2 separate regions of the Homo sapiens genome follow, and region 2 is linked to region 1. The links are contacts of gene promoters, found by promoter capture Hi-C in blood cells and fetal thymus (Javierre and others, 2016). All regions are on one chromosome and are shown on one strand. Each heading gives the region's core, a stretch centred on a gene start or on the middle of the fragment in contact. The rest is flanking DNA. Distances are from core to core; before and after follow the strand shown. Region 1 holds the start of SH3BGRL2 (SH3 domain binding glutamate rich protein like 2). Region 2 has its middle 3.5 kb from the start of LCA5.

Region 1 (3,812 bases), core at 581-3,080:
GATAACCCAGTGAGAAAGTCCTTTGTTGGCATTCATTCAAACCTACTTTTTCAGCATTGTCCTCTACTAGTTCCCTCATATTCCTTTCTGAAGCAAAACCAACTCCTTGCTGTTCTCCTCACACACCCTGAATAGTCTCACCCTGCATCCTCCCTATCTGCAGACAGAAATTCTACTCATCTTTAAAGTACCTTCTATGGCCACCTTTTTCCTTTACATCCACACAACACTGTATTAGTACAGTGTGTCTTGTTCTGTCACTATTTCTGTATCTGTCTTTTTCTTTCCTAGACAATAGGTGCTCTGCTGACAGAGAAATGACTCGTTCAACTTTTTATCCATTCTTGTACCTTTCACAGAGTAGGCTCTGAGTTCCAATTATTTGAGTTTAACTATATCTTCATAGCTGAATAATTCCAAACTGAAGAAAATGCTGACTTTTATAAAGATTTGCATTTATATAGGAAATACGGTATCTACTTTTAAGAAAATTATTTTCTATTTTATAAACGTGCATTTCCACATTTATGGTAGCAAAATTAAAGTACATTTGCCGAGAGATACTAAAGACAGCAAAACTTCTATTTAAAATTTTAAACACGAAGAAGAAATAAAGTCCCATTAGGAGTGTCTCTTCTATTATTGAAGGAAATTTAAAAAGATTCCTACTACAGAAATGGCTTTAAGAAAAGCAATAGGAAAGGTTATAAATTTGAAATATTCATAACTGTTCTAAAAAATACTTCATAATGATTGCTCTTTGTGCAAGAAATGTATCAAAGAGCCAGAGACCTCATCATCTAATTTCTTACTTTTTCTTAATTAACATTGTTCCCAGACCTCTGCTAAACTCCCGTGTTGAAAGGAAAAAAGTAAATACAGTACAGCAGGGAAAACTGGTTCCTTTCGACAAAACTGAGAGAGAGGCTTGAGCTTTTGTCAAACAGAAAGCACTTGATAAAAAACTATTCCTAAACTATTAGCAACTATATAGAAGCTTTTTATTTAACAGCATCCTCCTGGGAAACTGCGCTGGAATGTGCAGCGGTTCTGAAAAAGGCACAGATTTGGCTGAACTGTAAATATTAGGTGCACAGAGGCGAAGCCATTGTGTAGGGAGGGGTGGGGCAGGTAGGGTCCTGATTTCCAATGTTGATAGAAGGATTCCAATTTCGTTTGGTATTTATTTTTTTCTACTACAATTACAGTTTTGCTGAGAAAAATAAAATATTGGTTGTGCTTCCATCTGGGTTTCTAATTTTCAGTGTGTACAGACAAGAGAAGACCTCTCATTTACCCAAAAGAATCACCTTTCTGCAATCTCCAGTGCTACTGGACAAACAAACGAGCCCAACCCCACCGCCCACACCTCCCAAGCACCCGGCTCGCCGATCCCGCCTGCTTCAGGTAGCTGGGGTTTGCCCGGTACGCCAGCGGCCCTGAGACGATGTGTGCCCGCAGCACGATCGTGTCTGTTGGCATTTCTGGGTGTGGATGCTCCAAACCAATAAACCACAATACAGAACCCAAGCTTGGACTTTGAACCGAGCCCTTTTGCCTAGTTTGCTTTTTCCTCATCAAGCCAGGATCCTTGCCAACCCACCTCACAGCTTCTGCCCGGGCTGTGGCTCCCCTCCAGCCACCTGCGCGTGTTCGGGATAGAAGCGCGGTCAGGAGGGGAGCTCAGTCCACCAGCCACTCCAGGGAGAGACGGAAACTACAAATCCCATCAAGCCCCGCAGCCGGCTCCCTCCTCCTCCCTCTCCTTCCCCTTCAGCCTGCGGCCGGGCGGCGCTGGGCTTTTATCTGCGGACCCGCCGGGAGGGAGCCAGATCCCAGCGATCTTCCCCGACGGCAGCGCTTTACCCAGAGGCTGCCGGCGGCTCGTAGCTGGGTTCAGCTCTGCGTCCACGCCAGCCCGGAGCCCGGGGGGCAAGGGGTCTGTCCCGGGCGCAGCGAGAGGATGGTCATCCGCGTGTTCATCGCCTCTTCCTCGGGCTTCGTGGCGGTGAGCGCGGTGGGGGCGGGCAGTAGGTTGGGGTCGCGGGGCGCGGGTCCTGCGGGAGGCGCGCGGCGCTCGTCACTGCGCGTCCTTGCGCTCAGCCGGTCCGCCCGCGGGAGCCCGCGCCCGGCAGGTGATCCATCACACTCCGACAACAATGAAGAGGGCGGGGAGGAAAGGTGGGTGGGGGACCCCGGCCTCACCCAAATGCCCACCCTGCGTGGCCTGAAAGGCAGACAACGCGGCCTGAAAATGGAGTCCGAGGGAAGCCCCCAGCTCCTGTTGTGTGGCATGGAAATTTGGGGAACGGGTTGTTCAAGAGCTTCGGGGATCCCCCTTCCCCTAGTTTAGTTCTTCCCGATTTGGGACCTTCAGACTGGTTATGTTTTGCACGGGAGCCTTTTCTGCTGCTTTGGTTTGTTACCCTAGCTCCTGAATGAAGCAAGTTTAAGTGGGAATTGCTCTCTGTCCTCCCTTCCCCGCCAGCAAGTGCATTTGTTTAGTTTTATACCTGCGCAAAGAGAATAGTAAAACTAGGTTTGTCCTGTTGTGGTAGGATTGTTTGCTTTCACTGTCATTTTTTTTCTTAGGGTGCCATAAATATTTTTACATCTTTATGTAAATGTGTGTGTATGCACGCATTTTCTTTCCACCTGTAATGCTGTGGAAATTTTATCCTGGGGATCTATGAATTGTGGTTTTCTATTTAATTATTTTTAGCTATTCTCTTTGGTGGATGTTCTTGAATTTTTTTAGAGAAAAAAAATTTTTTTAAAGAAAGGAAAGTTAAATAGCTAGAGATGTCAGAATTTAAGGAAAATTCAGTAGTTAGTATATTTGACAGCCCACTAAGGGACATAGCACATGTGTTTTACATGATTATTGAGACTTGGTTTCCTTAACCAAGAGTTCAGCTATAGATTTAAGAGCCTCCTTTGTGACATATATAATCAAGTAACATCAAAAAGTGCATTGTAGATTGCTTAAATTTGGTCTGGTCAATTGTCTGCCCAGTAGCTCAGTCAGATTGTTCCAAAATTTGTTTCTTAAGTGGGTGGAGTGGAGGATGGAATAAAATATTGTTTGAAAATCCTTGTACACCACTGAAGTTTTTTATTTAAAAAGAAACCAACACGATCATACAAAGCCCCTCCACCCCCATTTGCACTAGAAACAATAGATGGGAAAATCCAACTTACACTTATGTGCAGTCATGTTGGGGTCCTCAGACTTCTGACAGTTTCTGGTGTTTCTAGCTATTTGGGTTGCTTAGTCATGCCTGCCTTTTGTAGATTTCCCCACTGAAGCCACACTTCATGTGTTTGCAAACTGGCACTGTTTCAAGGGTAGATTTGTTCAAATGCACTCCTTACTAAGAATGCTACAAAGCTCTTGGTTTCACCACCGACTTGCATGCTTCAATAATTGTCCCAATAGCATTATATTGATTATGGAAGGAATGGTTTTTATCCCTTCCACAAGAGATAAAGCCTAGGCTACTTTGGAGCAAGTCGGACCAAGTCAAGGTAATGACTTGGCTTACTCTATTAGTAGGTAGTATATTGAGATAGTTTTGGTACTCCACATCTTTGTTTTTTCAGTGCCATTGGCAAATATTTATTGCCTGCCTGCTGTGTGCCTTTTTAACTTTTAAATTTAATGTTTTGTGTTTTGCACATGGAGCTAAAATTAAGAGACTTAAGTTTTAGTGTGGGCCCCAACTAGTGCAGTGTAAGCCTGGTTAAGGTACCTCATCTCTGCCTGAGTTTCTCTTCTGTAAAATGAAGGATTTTCATGGATAACTCAGAAT
Region 2 (3,812 bases), core at 679-3,178, 90 kb before region 1:
ACGCTGGGAGAATCCAAAAAATTGTCTAGTTGTGTGTAACATAGTCTCAGGATTCTTACAGTGTGCAATTTTATTCACCCCCTCATATTCAAAATAACAGTATCAGTTTGACCTTGAAAAAAGACCAAAAAATGTATAAATTTACAGAAGTAAAAACTAGTTTATTGAATTACCATTTTAAAAGGTTACCCCAAAATATGAGAAAGCAGTTTTAAAAGTTTTATGACATTACATGGTTTTATATATTATTTTTGATAGGGCTAGAATTTTCTAAGATACCATTTGACATTTTATTTCAGTACCACACAGGATTCTGCTTTTCAGAAATAAAGGAAACAAAGTTATCAAAACCACATTTATATTTCTGCCACTTGAAATTATAGTTAACAGAAATCAGACTCTTGTTTTTAAAGATTTTGTTTATGAAACAAATTCTGCAATGGTCATTAAGCACTTTGGAGTTTTATTTTTAATATCCTGGGCTTCTTCCATTGATACTGCAATATCTCCAGATTTGCTACATTGCTAACTGAATGTTCATTTTCTGTAGGACTTTGATTGGCTTCTTTATTGCCATATGGCAATGATGTAGATGTTATAATGTAACTAAAATATTCCTACAAATGCTTACTAGTAGGATTATTCTCATTTTCCTTTGGGGAAACTAGTGTCGAGTTTGAATGGTTGGTTAGAAGTTTCAAAAAAGTAATAGGTAGATAAATAGACTCTCTAACTGTAGACAGAGAAATTACAATGACCATAATTTGTAAAGTGGGGGGACATACTATATATAGTATCTTGGAAAGCACATAAGTATAATTATCCTTAGCTAAAGTTCAGTCATCTATTTCATACCATTCTACAAAAGAAGAAAAGCAGTGTCACAATTTTATATAATTTACAGAAATGTGATACATAACAAAAATTCAAAAATTTTTTCTCTAACTTCTTGATCTCATGTTGCTTGGAAATTTTAAATTTATTAATAGATTCTAGGTAAATAGTTGGTTTTAGCATATAACACTAAATTTGAAACAGTATCTAATATGCTGCATGTTTAAGAGAAATCGAATGGATTGGTTGAGTTGGGTGTAAAGAACAGTATAATTGGCCGGGTGCTGTGGCTCATGCCTGTAATCCCAGCACTTTGGGAGGCCAAGGTGGGTGGATCACGAGGTCAGGAGATCAAGACCATCCTGGCTAACACAGTAAAACCCTGTCTCTAATAAAAATACAAAAAAATGAGCTGGGCGTGGTGGCGGGTGCCTGTAGTCCCAGCTACTCGGGAGGCTGAGGCAGGAGAATGGCATGAACCCGGGAGGCGGAGGTTGCAGTGAGCCGAGATCGCGCCACTGCACTCCAGCCTGGGCAACAGAGCAAGATTCCGTCTCAAAAATAAATAAATAAATAAATAAAATAAATAAATAGTATAATTTCATACCTAGAAAGTGGGCTGCTCTGATGAAAACAAATGTAGTCTAATCTGATTGCTATGAATACTTGATTTTGCAGTACAAAAAGCTAGTAGCCTTTGATTATTGCTCTGTTTAAAGGATACAGTTTCTGATCACTTGATGAAATGTACGAGTTTTTTTTTGTTAATGGAGAAAGAAAACTTGAGATGTTTGTAAAAATGTGTATATACTTACAACATAATGCTGGTCATCGATAGAATGAACTACTGATTAACACGGATTAATTTTAAAGACAATATTGAGCAAAAGAAGTCAGACACAAAAGAATATATTCTGTATACTTCCATTAATAAGTGATTCAAAAACAGGCAAAATTCATCTAAACTGGAAAAAATTAGAACAGTTATTGACTGTGGGGATGGAGGTAGGATCAAGTGGAAGGGACTGAAAGTTATTTTTGGAGTGATGTGAATATGCTGTTTTGACTGACGTGGTAGTTAAAGAGAGTTTCCAGCCGGGCATGGTGGCTCATGCCTGTAATCCCAGCACTTTGGTAGGCCGAAGTGGGCAGATCACTTGAGGTGAGGAGTTTGAGACCAGTCTGGCCAACATGGTGAGACCCCCATTTCTACTAAAAATACAAAATTAGCCAGACGTGGTGGTGTGTGCCTGCAGTCCCAGCTTCACGTGAGGCTGAGGCAGGAGAATTGCTTGAACCTGGGAGGCAAAGGTTGCAGTGAGCTGAGATCACACCACTGCACTCCAGCCTGGGCGGCAGAGTGAGACTCAGTCTCAAAAAAAAAGAAGTTTCCTTTATCAAAATTCATTAAAATATATAAAATATGTGTGCTTTTCACTGTATGTAAATTTTACCTCAATTTCTGAATGGCTTAAAAAAAAAGAATGCATTGGTTTGTATAACAGAAAAATCTAGTAGACCTAGCTCCACGTATGGTTGGATCCAAGTGCTCAATGTTATTAAAATTTTTTCTTCTCTTTGTCTCTTGGATGTACTTTTCTACGTGTTGGTCTTATTTAAGGCAGGCTTTCCCTTCCAGGTATGGCCACCAGTGCTCCAGATTTACATTCTATTTACCTCACAACCCCAGTGGAAAAAGAATATCTCTTTCCTGATTGGTCCAGCAGAAATCTTGGTATTAACTCTGACTGCCCACACTTGAATATGAACTATTAGTAAGTACTGTGGCCAAGAGTTTGCTTCGGGAAAGAATATGATAAAGTCACCTTATCTTTCATGTTTGCTCAGAATAGTGAGGTGATTCTCCACAGGAAAACTGGAATGCTGTTACTAGAAGAAGAAATACTGGACAAAGCTAATAGATGTCCCCAAAAGTGATGATAATAATTTTATTCAAATAGGTTCATAGATCAGTCTGGTGGGCTTGTTTTCACATTTTATTTAAGAAAAACTCTTGTAATTACAAGTTCCCCAGTCTGTAAATACAGATGAGATTAACCAAATTTTGTTATTTTTTGACTGCCTCTGCTTTATAGCACCCCTCCCCTCCAAAGACTTCCCCACCAATAATTTCTGGGACTTCCTAGAGAGTGTCTCATACTTACAAACATACCTGCCTCTACTGGTCATCCCACTAGGCAAGATACCAGGACCACTGCTCTGCCAGGCAACAGTCTATCCCTCTTCTCTCCAGGACCCAGCAACTTCTGCTGGTGGCCATCATGAAGTCACTGAGTACCACCACTTACACCAGTGCCAGAGTTGAACTGGAATTGTGCCAGTTATATGCCTTTTGTTTCTCAGATCCTAGCCTGCCTTTTCTATATCCTACTTTTTTTTTTTTTCCGAGACAGGGTTTCACTCTTGTTGCCCAGGCTGGAGTGCAATGGTGCGATCTCAGCTCACTGCAATGCAACCTCTGCCTCCTGGGTTCAAGCAATTCTGCCTCAGCCTCCTAGATAGTTGGGATTACAGGCATGCACCACCACACCCAGCTAATTTTGTATTATTAGTAAATATAGGGTTTCACCAGGTTGATCAGGCTGGTCTCAAACTCTTGACCTCAGGTGATCCACCCGCCTTGGCCTCCCAAAGTGCTGGGATTACAGGCGTGAGCCACCACACCTGGCCTCTATATTCTACTTTAAGGTTCAGGAGCTAGGACTCAACAAACTGCATTTCCCAGACACCCTTGCTAGTTGGCTTATCGGTAGGTTCTGCCAAAATGGGGCATTTAGGGAGAGGTTGGAAGGTGGGAGTTAGGGAGAAGTTCCTTCTCAATGTCTCTGTTCCTGTCAGGCAACAATTGGCTCTAGTCTAATGTGTCTTTTCCTCACTGAATATAAATGAGTAGACTGAATGAATGTGCTTGTTATTTTGTTTGCAACCTACACTATTACTTTATCTCCTCCCTCTCC

What was found. The method cuts DNA at HindIII sites, captures the fragments that hold promoters and counts their contacts. A CHiCAGO score of 5 or more calls a contact.
Region 2: a fragment that was not itself captured here is called in contact with the fragment with the promoter of SH3BGRL2 in region 1 in 1 of 17 cell types (megakaryocytes); the score reaches 5.6 in megakaryocytes.

The regions. Positions count from the first base shown.
Region 1 is chr6:79,629,499-79,633,310 of GRCh38, forward strand. SH3BGRL2 (SH3 domain binding glutamate rich protein like 2) reads left to right here and starts at 1,831. Exons shown (of 4, transcript NM_031469.4): 1 at 1,831-2,008. The coding sequence starts at 1,964. The HindIII fragment of the contact is 2,885 bases long and covers 1,530-3,812 here.
Region 2 is chr6:79,539,044-79,542,855 of GRCh38, forward strand. It overlaps a transcript of SH3BGRL2 not described here. Among named protein-coding and RNA genes, the nearest start is that of LCA5, 3.5 kb to the left of the region's middle. RefSeq lists an enhancer at 1-4. The HindIII fragment of the contact is 5,167 bases long and covers 1-3,812 here.